4 separate regions of the Homo sapiens genome follow, and all the other regions are linked to region 1. Evidence: promoter capture Hi-C in 16 types of primary human blood cells and fetal thymus (Javierre and others, 2016). All regions are on one chromosome and are shown on one strand. Each heading gives the region's core, a stretch centred on a gene start or on the middle of the fragment in contact. The rest is flanking DNA. Distances are from core to core; before and after follow the strand shown. Region 1 holds the start of ZNF432 (zinc finger protein 432). Region 2 holds the start of ZNF671 (zinc finger protein 671). Region 3 holds the start of ZNF550 (zinc finger protein 550). Region 4 overlaps ZNF549 (zinc finger protein 549).

Evidence for each region. Contacts are between HindIII fragments. The CHiCAGO score rates a contact against its expected background, and 5 or more counts as called.
Region 2: a contact is called between the fragment with the promoter of ZNF671 here and the fragment with the promoter of ZNF432 in region 1, in 1 of 17 cell types (activated CD4 T cells). The highest score is 7.3, in activated CD4 T cells.
Region 3: the fragment with the promoter of ZNF550 here is called in contact with the fragment with the promoter of ZNF432 in region 1 in 2 of 17 cell types (non-activated CD4 T cells and activated CD4 T cells); the score reaches 10.0 in non-activated CD4 T cells.
Region 4: a contact is called between a fragment that was not itself captured here and the fragment with the promoter of ZNF432 in region 1, in 3 of 17 cell types (activated CD4 T cells, non-activated CD4 T cells and naive CD8 T cells). The highest score is 7.3, in activated CD4 T cells.

The regions. Positions count from the first base shown.
Region 1 is chr19:52,047,095-52,050,766 of GRCh38, forward strand. It overlaps ZNF432 (zinc finger protein 432), which reads right to left and starts at 1,744. Exons shown (of 5, transcript NM_014650.4): 1 at 1,601-1,744. RefSeq lists an enhancer at 1,527-2,116. The HindIII fragment of the contact is 4,326 bases long and covers 1-2,344 here.
Region 2 is chr19:57,725,912-57,729,583 of GRCh38, forward strand. ZNF671 (zinc finger protein 671) reads right to left here and starts at 1,713. Exons shown (of 4, transcript NM_024833.3): 1 at 1,480-1,713. The coding sequence starts at 1,617. RefSeq lists enhancers at 1,412-1,912, 1,430-1,869, 2,010-2,059 and a silencer at 1,866-2,091. The HindIII fragment of the contact is 7,103 bases long and covers 1-2,456 here.
Region 3 is chr19:57,557,768-57,561,439 of GRCh38, forward strand. ZNF550 (zinc finger protein 550) reads right to left here and starts at 2,096. Exons shown (of 4, transcript NM_001397372.1): 1 at 1,889-2,096. The coding sequence starts at 1,915. It overlaps LOC124904781 (a long non-coding RNA gene), which reads left to right and starts at 2,175. Exons shown (of 2, transcript XR_007067357.1): 1 at 2,175-2,351. RefSeq lists enhancers at 1,138-1,217, 1,362-2,226, 1,668-1,717, 2,204-3,403, 2,348-2,457. The HindIII fragment of the contact is 1,240 bases long and covers 1,483-2,722 here.
Region 4 is chr19:57,536,316-57,539,987 of GRCh38, forward strand. It overlaps ZNF549 (zinc finger protein 549), which reads left to right. Exons shown (of 4, transcript NM_001199295.2): 4 at 889-3,672. The coding sequence ends at 2,612. Among named protein-coding and RNA genes, the nearest start is that of ZNF549, 11 kb to the left of the region's middle. The HindIII fragment of the contact is 1,333 bases long and covers 1,424-2,756 here.

The sequences.
Region 1 (3,672 bases), core at 494-2,993:
CCTTAACACGTGGCCCTGAATATTTGTCTCTTTATTTGGTTCTCTCAAACCAAGGAAACACAAGACCCTCAATGTAGGCCAAATGCCTTTCTTCGGTGAAGTGTGGAAGTAACATGAAGATGAAAGGGGAGGTCACAAAGGAGAATCCACATAGCATCATGCCTAAGCAGTAGGTAATTCTCATATCAGTTTTTTAAATCAGGCCATATGGATGGTGAGAAACTACATTTTTTCCTTTATACAATGTTACTCTCACACCTCTTTAAAAGTCTTTATATATATTTAAAAGTGTTTATATACGGCCAGGCATGATGGCTTACACCTGTAATCCCAGCACTTTGGGAGGCCGAGATGGGCAGATCACCTGAGGTCAGGAGTTCGAGACCAGCCTTGTCAACATGGTGAAACACTGTCTCTACTAAAAATAGAAAAAATTAGCCAGGCATGGTGGCAGGCACCTGTAATCCCAGCTACTCGGAGACTGAGGCAGGAGAATGGCTTGAACGCAGGAGGCGAAGTTTGCAGTGAGCCCAGCCATTGCACTCAAGCCTGGGCGACAAAAGCAAGACTCCATCTCAAAAAAAAAAAAAAAATGTTTATATACACACTTCAATATGAAGAACAAGAAACACATAGAAAAAAAGAGGGAGACAGAGAAAAGGAATACGAGTTATAAATACAAATTTAGAAAACAATTCAAAAATATAAATACTGGGAAAATAGCCGCCTTTATATACTAACATACAAAACCTGAAACACCCATAAAAATATGCAGTACATTTGCAAGAGGAAGGATAAAAATAGGCTCTTGTTAATTTGTGCGCAGTAATTTAAAAACATAATGTTAAATAGAAAGCCTATTCATCCGCCCCCCTTCACCCCCAAAAAACTTTCATTTTCTGCAGGTTCAAGAGCATGGGTTGTTGTGGAAAGCCAGAGGATTAGAAAACTCATTGTGGAGGAGGTACTCGGACCTGAAACTTTTAGGAAATGTTAACGTTCATCAAGTCTGTTCCAGCCAAAGTTTGAGCTCAACACACACACACACACACACACACACACACACACACACACACACACACACACACAAAACCAGCCAGGGCTCTTGTGAAAAGACTTCGGCTTTCACTTGTCTCTAGACAAAAGACCACCACCCCGCCAGATAAAATAGGAAAACCTGGAATAGACACACACGTACACTGGATTCCCTTAATGATTCATCAATCACTAAGCCTCAGATTAATCCAGAATGTGAAACAGAAGTCACATTCGTTGACAAAAGCCACCCCATCGATTCTCAATCACTGAGCCCCACTGGGGAGTGACCCGCGAGGACCACAATCCCTGACCTCAGTACTCTTGGTCGTTGATCTATTCAGGCCTTTAATCACTGACCACCAGAGCCTCCATGAGGGACCCCAAAGATATCCTATCACAGACACCCACCAGGGACTCCTACCAGCTCCCCTCCAAAAGGAAACACCCGCCCCCGCCTCCCCCAACCCCCGCGCTACCTCCACCATATAGCGCCACCAACAACGCAGACGCCCTCAGAAAGCTCCCTCCCACCACGTTTCCACGCCCTGACCCACACACTGACCTGACTCTCCTTGGAATCGCCGCGACCTCTTAAAAGCTGAACTTACTTCCCTAAACTTCTTCCACTTCTGGGCCCCTCGCCCAACTCCCTCCCCCTCTAAACCTCCAGAGACGGTCAGCCGCGTTTCCATGGAGAGCGGAATGCGGCCTTCCGGCTTTTCCTCAGGAGGAGACGCGTCCGCGCCGGCGTCGCCTCGCCGCTCTGGGGGCGGCCATCTTTGAGTACGTGACGTACAGAAGGCACAGCGGCCGGGAGACGCGGTGGACGGAGGCCTCTTAAACTGTCCGATTTCCAGACACCTCAGCCCTGGCAGAAAATGGAGAGCTTATCAGAGGCTTGAGTTCACACAGGCAGACACGGCGTGGGGGTAAAGTCCTCTGAACAGACACGGAACAGAAATAAGTTAGTCTTCTCCTCGCAGGGGACAGTGAACGGCGCAAACTTCTCAAAGGCCAGAACCCATTATTACCACAAAGGCGCGGCATCCCTTCTTAGCGGTTATGATGGCTGTGACGTCTCAGCTCAATGGAAAATTAAAGTCACCTCTGGGCACCTCAGTCACTATTGTAAATGCGAAGCGTTTTAGAAGCCGTATAAAAACTGAAGCAAGAGAGACTAGAACAAAAAATAAGCGAGCGGTGCGTTGCAGGTAACGGAGCCAGAGCCCTTAGGGGAGAGCATCATGGGGGCGGCCATCTTAGGGGACGTTCGGTGTCCGTACGGCAGAACATATTCTCTCTGAGAAGCTTGCGGTGGAACTGGCCCATGGAAATGTCTTTAGAAGAGAAGAACCACCTGGCTCTGTTCTTGACTCTGGAAAAGAATCCTTTTCTAGAATTATTTAGGTTGTTGCCAGATTAATTTCCTTTAGAGAGTTTCCTTGCCCCCACGACTTCCTATCTTTAAAGCCAACAATAGTATGTGAAATCCCTTTCATATTTGAAACCACTGACTATTGCTGCTGCATCTCTCCGGTTTCTCCTATTCTTAAGTGCTTGGGCAATCCAGAATAATCTCCCAATGCTAAAGTCAGCTGATTAATAAACTTAATTACAATGCAGAGTCCTTTTTGCCATGTAACATAACCATGGGAATTACTCTGGGGTTGTAGATCTGGCTATGATATGATGACACTAATGAATATTTTGCAATAAAAACATACTATTTTAAAATATATATATACATATATCTTTATATATGTATATTTCTACAGAATTATTACAAGTTATGTCTTATGATGGTTTCTTATAAGAAGCAAGGAGGAAAAGGTCCTTAACATTTTCAATTGTGTTTTTTTTAATAATAAAGCATGCATTCTAATTTACAAAAACCACAATAAAGGTACTTTCATCATGTCAGTCTTGAGGCTGAACAACACTTAACATTCTTTTTCCTTTTACCTGTCTGCCTTCTCCCTTCCCCTACACTCTCTATACCCCACCCTCCAGGCTCTCTGTTCCATCATCTTATGCGTATGGCCCCTTTCCCCTGTGCCCTCTTATTACTTCCATCTATCACGCAGACACACACTGTCACTCCCCTAAACACTCTAGTGTTAAACAATTGCTGCTGATTGTTTTTTGACAAGTGCCCTATGGGTAGGAGTGTTCACATAAATAAAGTCAAGCCAAATAGAGAAATACTATGAGAATAGACCTATTCAGCAGGCTGCAAAGCAGGCTTAGTAGTGAACATTCTGTGGGGATGGAGGCTTTTGGGTGTTTCAGAGCCATTTCTGCCATTTTCAGAGCCATTTCTACCTCCTCAAGTGCAGATATTCTGCTAGGGTGCAGATATTCACTGTTACTGTTGTTAAAAGGTGGTTGCTTTTCAAGGCTACCTTGAAGCTGAGGATATGGGGATAGGATTAGGGCAAGCTAAATACCACAAGCTCACTGTGGCCGGCATTGTAGACTTAATTGGCCATTCTAGAAGAGGAACTAACTGGCTTCTAGCCAGGGCCTAAAAACTAGATCTAGATAGCCAAAAAGATTACATTAAACTTCCTCTAGTGTCCCATCTATCAGATTCCAATCCTGAAGGACCAAGTCAATCTCTCTTCTATTTCATCT
Region 2 (3,672 bases), core at 463-2,962, 5.7 Mb after region 1:
TGACAGAGCGAGACTCGTCTCCAAAAAAAAAATAAATAAATAAAATAAAACCAAAGCCAAGTGCAGTGGCTCACAACTGTAATCCAAACACTTTGGAAGGCTGGGGCCGGTGGATCAGTTGAGGTCGGGAGTTCAAGACCACCTGGGCCAACACGGTGAACGTCCCCCCCACTCCCCCGCCCCCACCCCACCCCTCCCACCTCCCCACCCCACCCCACCCCTCCCACCTCCCCACCCCCGTCTCTACTATAAATACTAAAATTAGCCAGGGGTGGTTGTGGGCACCTGTAATCTCAACTACTTGGGAGGCTGAGGCGGGAGAATCTCTTGAACCCGGGAGGTAGAGGTTGCAATAAGCCACTGCATCCCACCCTGGGCGACAGAGTGAGACTTCGTCTCAAAAAAAATAAAAAAAATAAATAAACTAAAACTAAAAGAAAACACACAAAATGAGGGTGAGATAATCAGATAGTAGCAATAGCACACCACCCATCGTTGCCATCCCAGGCCAAACTCCTCATACCCTACAGCTCTCTCCTCCTGCAAACACTGAAAAGAACCCTTTCAAATGGCAGGACCCTTCTCTTCTGGGGGGAGTCTCAAGAATGCCCACTCCCTCTTCCCTGCCCTGCAGTCCCAGCCTTCTCATCTCTTACCCCAGAGATATGAAATAACATACTTAAGACTGCCCCACTTAAATCTGACCTCCTGGCCTTGACCTACTCCAGACCGCTCCCTTCACCCCAAAGATATTCTAAGCCCAGCCCCTTCCCCACAACTTCAGACCTTCCTCTCTAGTTGCCTAAGTGAGGAAGCCTCCACTCTGAGACATCTCAAAGTCACCATTCCAAAATCCAAACGTTCATGGAAAAACAACAAAAACACCTTGCTCTTTCATGCCTTACTTTCAGTCATAGCTGCATATGATGGAGCAGAAAATCCTGTTGGTTTCAAATTTAAAACCTACCCAGAATATGATCACTTCTACCCACTCACCTGCCATTACTCTTGGTACATCCACCACCAAAGCATTCCTGGAATCCACTGCAGTAGCCTCCTTACCGGTCTCCTCGTATCCATCCTCGCAGTCCCCACCCCAAACTAATGTTCTCCCCTGAGCAAATTTCGAGACACTTAAAATCCCAGCTAAGATCACGTCCTTCTATTCAAAACCCTCAGTTAATCTCAACGCCCTCAGAATGAAGCGACAACTTCTCAGCCTGCCATTCCAGTCACAGTTCCTCAAACTCTGCTCTGTGTTGATGAGAACCCTGTCTCCCAAATGTTTGGGGGTCAGCAGCACCCCCGAGCCTTTACCTGCGCCGTCCCCTCCGCCCGTAACTCTCCCACACCCACCCACACCGAGATAGGACCCCGCCCCAAGAGTGCGTCGCTGTCCTGGGACACAGGGGCTGCAGGCACTTTACGATTCGGAGTCGGAGAAAGGGTGACTGAGGGCCCGGAGGACGCAGCACCCACCCGCGCGGAGTCCGTTAGCTCCGCCATAGGACCGTGGGCGCGGACAGCTGCCGGGAGCGGCAGGCGTCTCGATCGGGGACGCAGGCACTTCCGTCCCTGCAGAGCATCAGACGCGTCTCGGGACACTGGGGACAACATCTCCTCCGCGCTTTCCCAACACCTCCACCTGCGGCCCACACAAGCGTTACAGAACCCCGGCCAGGGACAGCCTGACAGAAACAAAATGTCCGCTACAAGGAGGAGCCGGAAGTCCCGCCCACGCACCCCCCGCAGGCACTGAAACACCCCTCTCCTGGGCCCTCATTGGGTATGCAACGTATAGGTTTGTGGGTAGAGTGTGGTTCCCACTGAGCTATCCTTCAAGGCAGGGGATTCTCGGCCTGGGCTCTTGGGAAAACTCGAAGTAGGAGGGCCAAGTTGTTTGGGAAAAGTAACCCGAGTTTCAAAGGGCTGACAGGACTTCCGTCCTCTTTTTTTTTTTTTTTTTTTTTTTTGAGACAGAGTCTCGCTCTGTCTCCCAGGCTGCAGTGCAGTGGCGCGATCTCGGCTGACTGCAACCTCCGCCTCCCGGGTTCAAGCGATTCTCCTGCCTCAGCCTCCCAAGTAATTGGGACTACAGGGGCCCGCCACCACGCCAGGCTAATTTTAGTACTTTTAGCAGAGTACGGGATTTCACCATGTTGGCCAGGCTGGTCTCGAACTCCTGACTTTGTGATTTGCCTGCTTCGGCCTCCCAAAGTGCTGGGATTACAGGAGTGAGCCATGGTGCCCGGCTGACTTCTGTCCTCTTAAAAGGCCTGGACCTAGATTCCCTGGAGTGTAGTATGCACCGATCGCAGAAATGTTGAGACATTTCAGATGTTCCCCAAAGCTGCAAAACTAAATAGATACACCACACCACAATGTCTCTTTGCGTACACTCACAGCTAGAAGCTAATAACTATTACCTTGTTGCTTTTTAAATATGTGTGCACTCAAGCTTTACAGTAACTTTTGTGAGCTTCAGTTTGGTCAGAGACGGAAGAGAAAATATTCCAAACAAGGCCTTGGAGTGGAAGAAGGAAGAGGGATGATGTGGAGTCTCCCTGAAACCAGTGGACAGATTTCTTCAGAAAACTCTTCCTGCCTGGGTAATCAGTGATGTCTCCATCACAGCAAAACACAGTGCAATTACCATTTAACCTGTCATTGTCATTGTAAGTATGGTGTCTGTGTTAGGAGGTGAGATTATCCCCGGGGGAAAAATCCTGACAGCTATTAATAATGATTCCGTAGTTATTTGAAGATAATGAAAGAAATTGCTCTAAGGAAATATCTGTGATAGATGGACAAAGTTAAGATCTCAGTAAAGTTTGAGCCTGAATACTAAAGTATAAGTGAAAGAATGAAGTTAAGCATATGGTTGTGTTGTGATCTTGACCACACTTTGTCAACAAAATGTGACTCTTTTTTCCTGAAAATGCTGAGCAATTGTAAAGAAGATATCAGAATGGTAAAAATCAACAGTGAAGTTGTGCTGTCTTGATAATTCACTGTTAAAATACACATCCAAGGAACACATACGAGCTCTCAGTAGGTGTTTTTCAAATGTGTTAGTAGCATGAAAGACATCACTAATAAAATTTCCAAGATTCCTATACATACAGGACATGTCCTGCATATAATGATTTTTGTCCTGCATCACCTTTTGACTTTGTCACAATACCCTAAATAAATATTCTAAAGAAGGCAACAGTCTTAAAGAAAAGAATTTTCAACCCGGAATTTCATATCCAGCCAAACTAAGCTTCATAAGTGAAGGAGAAATAAAATACTTTACAGACAAGCAAATGCTGAGAGATTTTGTCACCACCAGGCCTGCCCTAAAAGAGCTCCTGAAGGAAGCACTAAACATGGAAAGGAACAACTGGTACCAGCCACTGCAAAAACATGCCAAATTGTAAAGACCATCAAGGCTAGGAAGAAACTGCATCAACTAATGAGCAAAATAACCAGCTAACATCATAATGACAGGATCAAATTCACACATAACAATACTAACCTTAAATGTAAATGGGCTCAATGCTCCAATTAAAAGGCACAGACTGGCAAATTGGATAAACAGTCAAGACCCATCTGTGTGCTGTATTCAGGAAACCCATCTCACATGCAGAGACACACATAGGCTCAAAATAAAGGGATGGAGGAAGATCT
Region 3 (3,672 bases), core at 846-3,345, 5.5 Mb after region 1:
AAGGCCTGACTTAAATCAGGCCTCCTGAATCTGACACTTGCCAGCTATGTGACTATGACGATGTCACATGATCTCTCTAAGGCTCGATTTCCGAATCAACACAATAACTATTCCCATCTCAGCAGGCAGCTCTAAGAACTAAACAGAAAATGTTCACTTAGGCAATCAGTGGAGTGCCTAGCACATGTAAGTGCCTGATGTGTTTGGGAACTTTATTAATCCCCTGACAGGCCCAGAGGTAAATGTCGTTATCACTTCCATTTCACAGTCAGCAAAGGCTCAGGGAGCTTTAGAAATCAGGCACAGCCTCACATTTAAAAAGCAAAAGCAGCATTTGAGCACCGCTAAAACACCTCACCAAGCTGCCAGAGAGCAGGCAGGTGGGAGTGAGGGGTGCTTTTAGCTACAGCCAGCACTGCCAGGATGGGTGTGGAACTGCAGCCCCGCAGAGACCTGAGAACAATGTCTCAGACAAAGGGAAGTGCAAGGGCAAAGGCTGAAAATGGGAAAGAGCTTGGCAAGCTCAGGATTCCCTGGATGAATGCAGTGAGAAAGGGGACAATGGAAGAGGAGAAAGAAGATGCGGTCAAAAGGGCAAACCAAGTACAGCCTTGCAGACCATGCTGGTAGGAGGGGGTGGATTTATTGGAAATGTGATGAGAGTCCCTATAAGAGAGGCCTATTCAATCATCAACCATTTATTAAGTACAATAAATGTACTTAAGCCTGGCTGTTCTGGGTCTTGGGAGAGGGAAGCAACAGGCACTCACATTCCAGGGTTGGAAAAAGATCCTAAACAGGCAACTAAATAAATGAGTAAGGCAATGTCAGATGGCCTTAAAGATTCAGATGACAAGAAAACAGAGCAAGGAGACCAAAGAGACTCTGGTCAGCTTTAAACGGTGCAACAGACGAGACCTCTTTAAGCAGCGGACACCAGAGGGAGTCAGAAATAAAGCAAAGGAGGGAGAGGTGGATGAGAAATTAACAACTACGACAGGAGCTGACAGTAATCTGGGCTATCATGAAAGTAATCAGAGTGACTGCTAGAGAGTAACCCTGGGCCTCATGTGTTATCTCCAAAGGGACACTACATCCTGCATACCATCGCCACTGAACATTTTAATGGACTCGTTTTTCACCTGTAACTAAATGTCTTAAACAGGAAAATATACTGTTAGTTGCAACCCAGCGTCCCTTGCCCTAAACTGAAAGACAAATTCCTCAGCCTGCCCTACCACCTTTTCTGCCCTGGCATAGCAGCAACCGCAGAAACGCTCCTCCCACCTCTTTCAGCCGCTGCCCTTCGTGTTGTAGAGACAGGAGGCCAAGGAGGCCAGAGGGTCAGACTCCTGCTGGGGTTGAGTCTCCAAACCTAGCACAGGCCCAGGGAGCAGCTCCGGAAACAACATCCTGAGCGACGTCCCCGGACCGTGCTGTGCACTGAGACGGACACACACACATCACCCAGGGAGCCGTTCAAGCTTCCTCAACCCCGGGGGGGGGAAGAGTAAATATTTCTACTTTGCGCGCGCAAAAATGAAGGACGAGGACAGTAACGGGACTTGTTCAAGGTCGCAGGCCCGAGAAAGGACATGGTTGGAAGAGCCACGAGGAGGACTGCGGTCGCTCCTCTCACCTGTGAGGGGTTCCGGGACCCTAAAAGCCCTATTTCATACCACAACGCCGCGCACCCCAGAAACGGGGACGCTCCCCACGCCACCGCGGGCCTGCATTCCGGACCCGGGACCGCGCGACCCCCTTCTAGGCCTCTAAGAAGCAACGGCAGGGACTGCACTGAGGACGACCCTGAAACGCCGTCCTTCCGCTCGTCGGGCCCGGGACACTGAGGCCGGGTGGCCGCGGGGAGCCGAGCCAGTCTGCTCACCTGCGCTGCGTCCTTCGTCTCCGCCATCCGACCGTTGGCAGGACGAGGCCGCGTGGGGCAGCTCCCACGGGCTCAAAACCCTACCCCGGGTCCTACAACGGTGCGGAGGTGAGCCCCAGTCGCCCTACCATCCTTCCCAGCACAGTTCTGAGAGCGCGGACCAACACGCCCCACCACAAACGTCCACGCCAGCGAGGCCGGAAGTCCCGCCCCTGTGTCGCGGTCGCCTGCCACGCCTTTTCCTGCGCCGGCCCACTGCCTTCTAGGTAATGTAGTCTTGTCCCGTAAGAGGCCAGGCTTGGCTCTTTTTCCTTTTTTATTATGCACACCATGTTTCTGTATATCTCAGATGATCTTAGCGGAGCAAGTGTACACACTGGATTGTAAATTTTTAAAACTTCCTATTATTCGGATGCCTCAACGTCCCTACAAGCAGGCTGTGAGCACTCGCCCAGGCACCCAGGTAAACGAGTTTGATAAAGGGGGCCCTGCCACGAGGTTCCCCGCTTGCCTCCTCTGAGTGACCCAGTGACATTCCCATGTACCAGTAAAATCTTACGCCTGGTTACTGCGTCCTCCTCCACCCTGACGCCAGGCACTGTCCCTGGGACTGGCGTGGATCTGGACCCCCGCTTCCCGCGTGGAGCCATTCCCGGGACATGCTCGTGGGGTTCCGTCTGTGGGACGTCTGCCTCCTCTGTGTGGACTGGTGTTGCCCAGGGCTCAGGAAGGTCTCCAGGGGCCGTGAGTCCCCGCCCGCTTCCGGAGTCCAGCTTCGTGACACCATCGTGAGAAAGAATGCAGGGATGAGTCAAAATGAAGCCAAAGGCAAGAAGCTTTTATTGGGAAGAAAAAGTACACATTTTTGAGAAGAGTGTACTTTTCCCAAGAGAAGAGGGAAATGCGGACGTACGAGGGAGAGCGGGTCATGCACAATGGAGTTTGGGTTTCTAATTTTATGGGCTCTTCTAATTAGGGGGTGGGATAATCATGAGGTTTTTCTAGGAAAAGGTGGGAATTTCTTAGAATTGGGGTGCCAACCATTTTTATACTAAATGTGGGCGTGCTTGGATTGGCCTGGCACTGGTGGGTGTGTGATTTAATGTGGCAATGAGTGTATAATTAGGTCTGGGGTAGGAAATGGGTCAAATCTAGCGTCATGGGACAGCCTAGCCCCAATCCTGTTTGTTAAGGTCTCATCAGCCCAGTCTTCTTGTTGGAGTAGCTAATTTTAACAGCTTGATGTTTTCCCCCTTCTCCTGTGACCACACAGCATTCCTATTTTGTGGGTGTTTCTTTAATTAGAGAGTGGAATAATTATTAGGTATTCTGGAAAAGGAGGGAAATTCAGGGACCCACCTGGTTACTGCCCCCTTTCTCTCTTATTTGGCTTTGCCCAGAAGAGTCATGGACATGTCATCCTGACTGGGATTTTGGCCATTCTTTCTCTTATTTTGGGTTTTCTGTTATCCTATGGTTTCTTTGCCTAGTTCTTGTTTTTATTTGTTGTTCGAATTTTTCCATCCTCCTGCAACCACCCAGTGCTATTCCTATATCACTGTGAGTATAAACACCCTTTAACCTTATAGGCTTCTTGAAGTATAATTCCCAAGACCATGTTGCAGTGGTCCTTAAAGAACCAATAAGGCAGAGAGAAACAAACATGTTCCAAATTTTGTTCTCAGGAGTAAACCTTACTCAATTGTTAAAGGCTGTAGCTAGCTCAAAAGAAGTTTCCTTGACTCTGAAAAACAAAACAAGGATCAGCAATGTTCCAAGCAAAA
Region 4 (3,672 bases), core at 840-3,339, 5.5 Mb after region 1:
AGTGTCAGTTGTTTAGCCTGGTGATTGCATGGCTTACTGAGAGCTGCAGCTTGCTACCACTGCATCACAAGAGTATACACACTGCGTATCACTAGCCTGGGAAAAGTTCAAAATTCAAAGTATGGTTTCTACTGAATGTGTCACTTTCGTATCATCATAAAGTGGAAAAATCATAAGTTCAACCATTATAAATCAAAGACTGTCTACTTAAGCTCTCAAACATCAGCTATCCAGTTGTAATTGCATTTTCCTGGGGTGACACACATTCTATGCAGGTCTCCCCTGTCTCCATCAGATGACGTCCTATTGAAAACCATTGACAGAGAAGGGAGTTGTATGCCCCCTGCCTCTCTTCCCACCATAGTACCCCATTCCTTGTTCTCTTGCTGGTTATGGGTCTTCCCCTACATGGTAACCTTAAGAGGCCTAATACTGCAAGTATTATCTTCCTTGACCTGACTCCAGCTCCCTTGTCCTGAAAACAAACCCATGGCCTGGGTGCAATGGCTCGTGCCTATAATCCTAGCACTTGGGGAAGCTGAGGTGGGAGGATCACTTGAGCTAAGGAATTTGAGACCAGCCTCGACAACATAATGAGACCTGTATCTCCACAAGAAATTCTAAAAAAAAATTAGCCAGGTATGGTGGTATATGCCTGTAGTCCTAGCTACTTGGGAGGCTGAGATGGGAGTGTCACTGGAGCTTGGAAGGTCAAGGCTGCAGTGAGATATGACTGCAACTGCACTCCCATCTGGGTGACAGAGCAAGACCCTATCTCAAAGAAAAACCATGGACTCGTCCCTCCCTGTGTTCCACAGGTATTTGTAATGGAGCTGTTCCCTTCTACCAAAGTCTGCATATACTTCACTTGCATTTTTATGCTTTTAGGTTGTTTGCATGGAATAGAGGCTGAGGAGGCCCCTTCTGAGCAGACTCTTTCTGCGCAAGGAGTGTCACAGGCCAGGACTCCAAAGCTAGGTCCTTCCATCCCAAATGCTCATTCTTGTGAGATGTGTATCCTGGTCATGAAAGACATTTTGTACCTCAGTGAGCATCAGGGGACACTTCCCTGGCAGAAACCTTATACGTCTGTGGCCAGTGGGAAATGGTTTTCATTTGGTTCTAACCTGCAACAGCACCAGAACCAGGACAGTGGAGAGAAACACATCAGAAAGGAGGAGAGCAGTGCCTTGCTTCTGAATAGCTGCAAAATTCCTCTGTCAGACAATCTTTTCCCATGCAAAGATGTTGAGAAGGATTTTCCAACCATCCTGGGCCTTCTCCAACACCAGACCACCCACAGCAGACAAGAGTATGCACATAGAAGCAGGGAGACCTTTCAACAAAGACGTTACAAATGTGAGCAAGTTTTCAATGAGAAAGTTCATGTTACTGAGCATCAGAGAGTCCACACTGGAGAAAAAGCTTATAAGCGTAGGGAATATGGGAAATCCTTGAACTCTAAATACTTATTTGTTGAACACCAGAGAACCCATAATGCAGAAAAGCCTTATGTGTGCAATATATGTGGGAAATCATTCCTCCATAAACAAACACTCGTTGGGCACCAGCAGAGAATTCACACTAGAGAAAGGTCTTATGTGTGCATCGAATGTGGGAAATCCTTGAGCTCCAAATACTCACTTGTGGAACACCAGAGAACCCATAATGGAGAAAAGCCTTATGTGTGCAATGTATGTGGGAAATCATTCCGCCACAAACAAACATTTGTTGGCCATCAGCAGAGAATCCACACTGGAGAGAGGCCTTATGTGTGTATGGAATGTGGGAAATCTTTTATTCATTCCTATGACCGCATTCGACACCAGAGAGTTCACACTGGAGAAGGGGCTTATCAGTGCAGTGAATGTGGGAAATCCTTCATATACAAACAGTCACTTCTTGATCACCATAGAATCCACACGGGAGAAAGGCCTTATGAGTGCAAAGAATGTGGGAAGGCCTTCATTCACAAAAAAAGACTTCTTGAGCACCAGAGAATTCATACTGGAGAAAAGCCTTATGTGTGCATCATATGTGGGAAATCATTTATCCGCTCGTCTGACTACATGCGACACCAGAGAATTCACACTGGAGAAAGGGCTTATGAATGCAGTGACTGTGGGAAAGCCTTCATCTCCAAACAAACACTTCTTAAGCATCACAAAATCCACACTAGAGAAAGGCCTTATGAATGCAGTGAATGTGGAAAAGGCTTCTACCTTGAGGTTAAACTTCTTCAGCACCAAAGAATCCATACTAGAGAACAACTTTGTGAGTGCAATGAATGTGGAAAAGTCTTCAGCCACCAAAAAAGACTTCTTGAGCACCAGAAAGTTCACACTGGCGAAAAGCCCTGTGAGTGCAGTGAATGTGGGAAATGCTTTAGACACCGCACCAGCCTCATTCAACACCAGAAAGTTCACAGTGGAGAGAGGCCTTATAACTGCACTGCATGTGAGAAGGCCTTTATCTATAAAAACAAACTTGTTGAGCATCAGCGAATCCACACCGGAGAAAAGCCGTATGAATGTGGTAAATGTGGGAAAGCCTTCAACAAAAGATATTCCCTTGTCAGGCACCAGAAGGTACATATAACAGAAGAGCCCTAGCAATTGTTGGGATGTGTAATTGTCTTATTCACTGTAGGACACCAGAGAGCTGATTTTTCAAGGGATCCAACAGACAGAAATTCACCCTCATACATCTGCATATCACTAGTTGAAAGATTCACTACAAGGTCCAAGTACTTGGGAAGCTTTCTAGAGATTACTTGTACTTTCTAATCTGCCCAGTGTTACAACAGACACTACCATGTGGCATATCCTCACCGTTTTCATCAGTCACTCACATGTGCTCAAGGAATGCAGACCACTGTGCTTACCAAATTCTGAAGGGAATAATATAATAAAAGCCTGTTGAGGGTCCTCTTCCATCTTGCTGAACTGTTCGAGGCAAAGACAAAACCCAACTTTGACCAAGAAGAGCAATCTGGATTCTTGTAGCCCATGGAGGTTTACCTTCTTCATAGGTTTTTTTTTTTTTTATGTGATTGCCATAGTGGGATATTCCCTCTCCCACATTACCCAAGAGGGAAATGGGCTGTCTTACCATGTGCTGATGTATGTGCTCTGCCAGTGTGAAGGGTGAACAGCTCCAACTTTATGTCCCCCCAGGGACATAGTATGAGATCGGAAAATAGTTCTTAGTCCTGTTTGTCTTAATTTTTATTGGTTTCCAAGGTCTCCTAGGAAGGAGAGCAGAGCTGTGTGGTCCTAATCATGGTGTCGATGCCAGATTTATTTGTAGGTCCAGAGGTCTCCCTGAGAAGAGGCATTTGTGACAAACTCAAGTGCTGGGACCTGCATGAATTGTTTATTTGCAGTGATGCTTCATATTTCCCAGCACTGTTCATGGTATCTTATTTCCCAGGTCCTTCATTGTAGCCATGGGCACTGAAGGACTGAATTGGTAGGTAGGTCACTGGTTGTAAGACCTACTGGGGCCAGGTAAGAACAGTAATTGGCCCAGACAGGTAGGTGTGATAAACAGAGTAGAAAAGATTGTGGCCAAGAAGAGTGAATGTGTCCCATCCAAAGGTGCATCCAGATATGTCTGTGTTACTATGGCTTCATGGTTTGGGGGTATATAGAAATTCTCAGGACCTCAGAC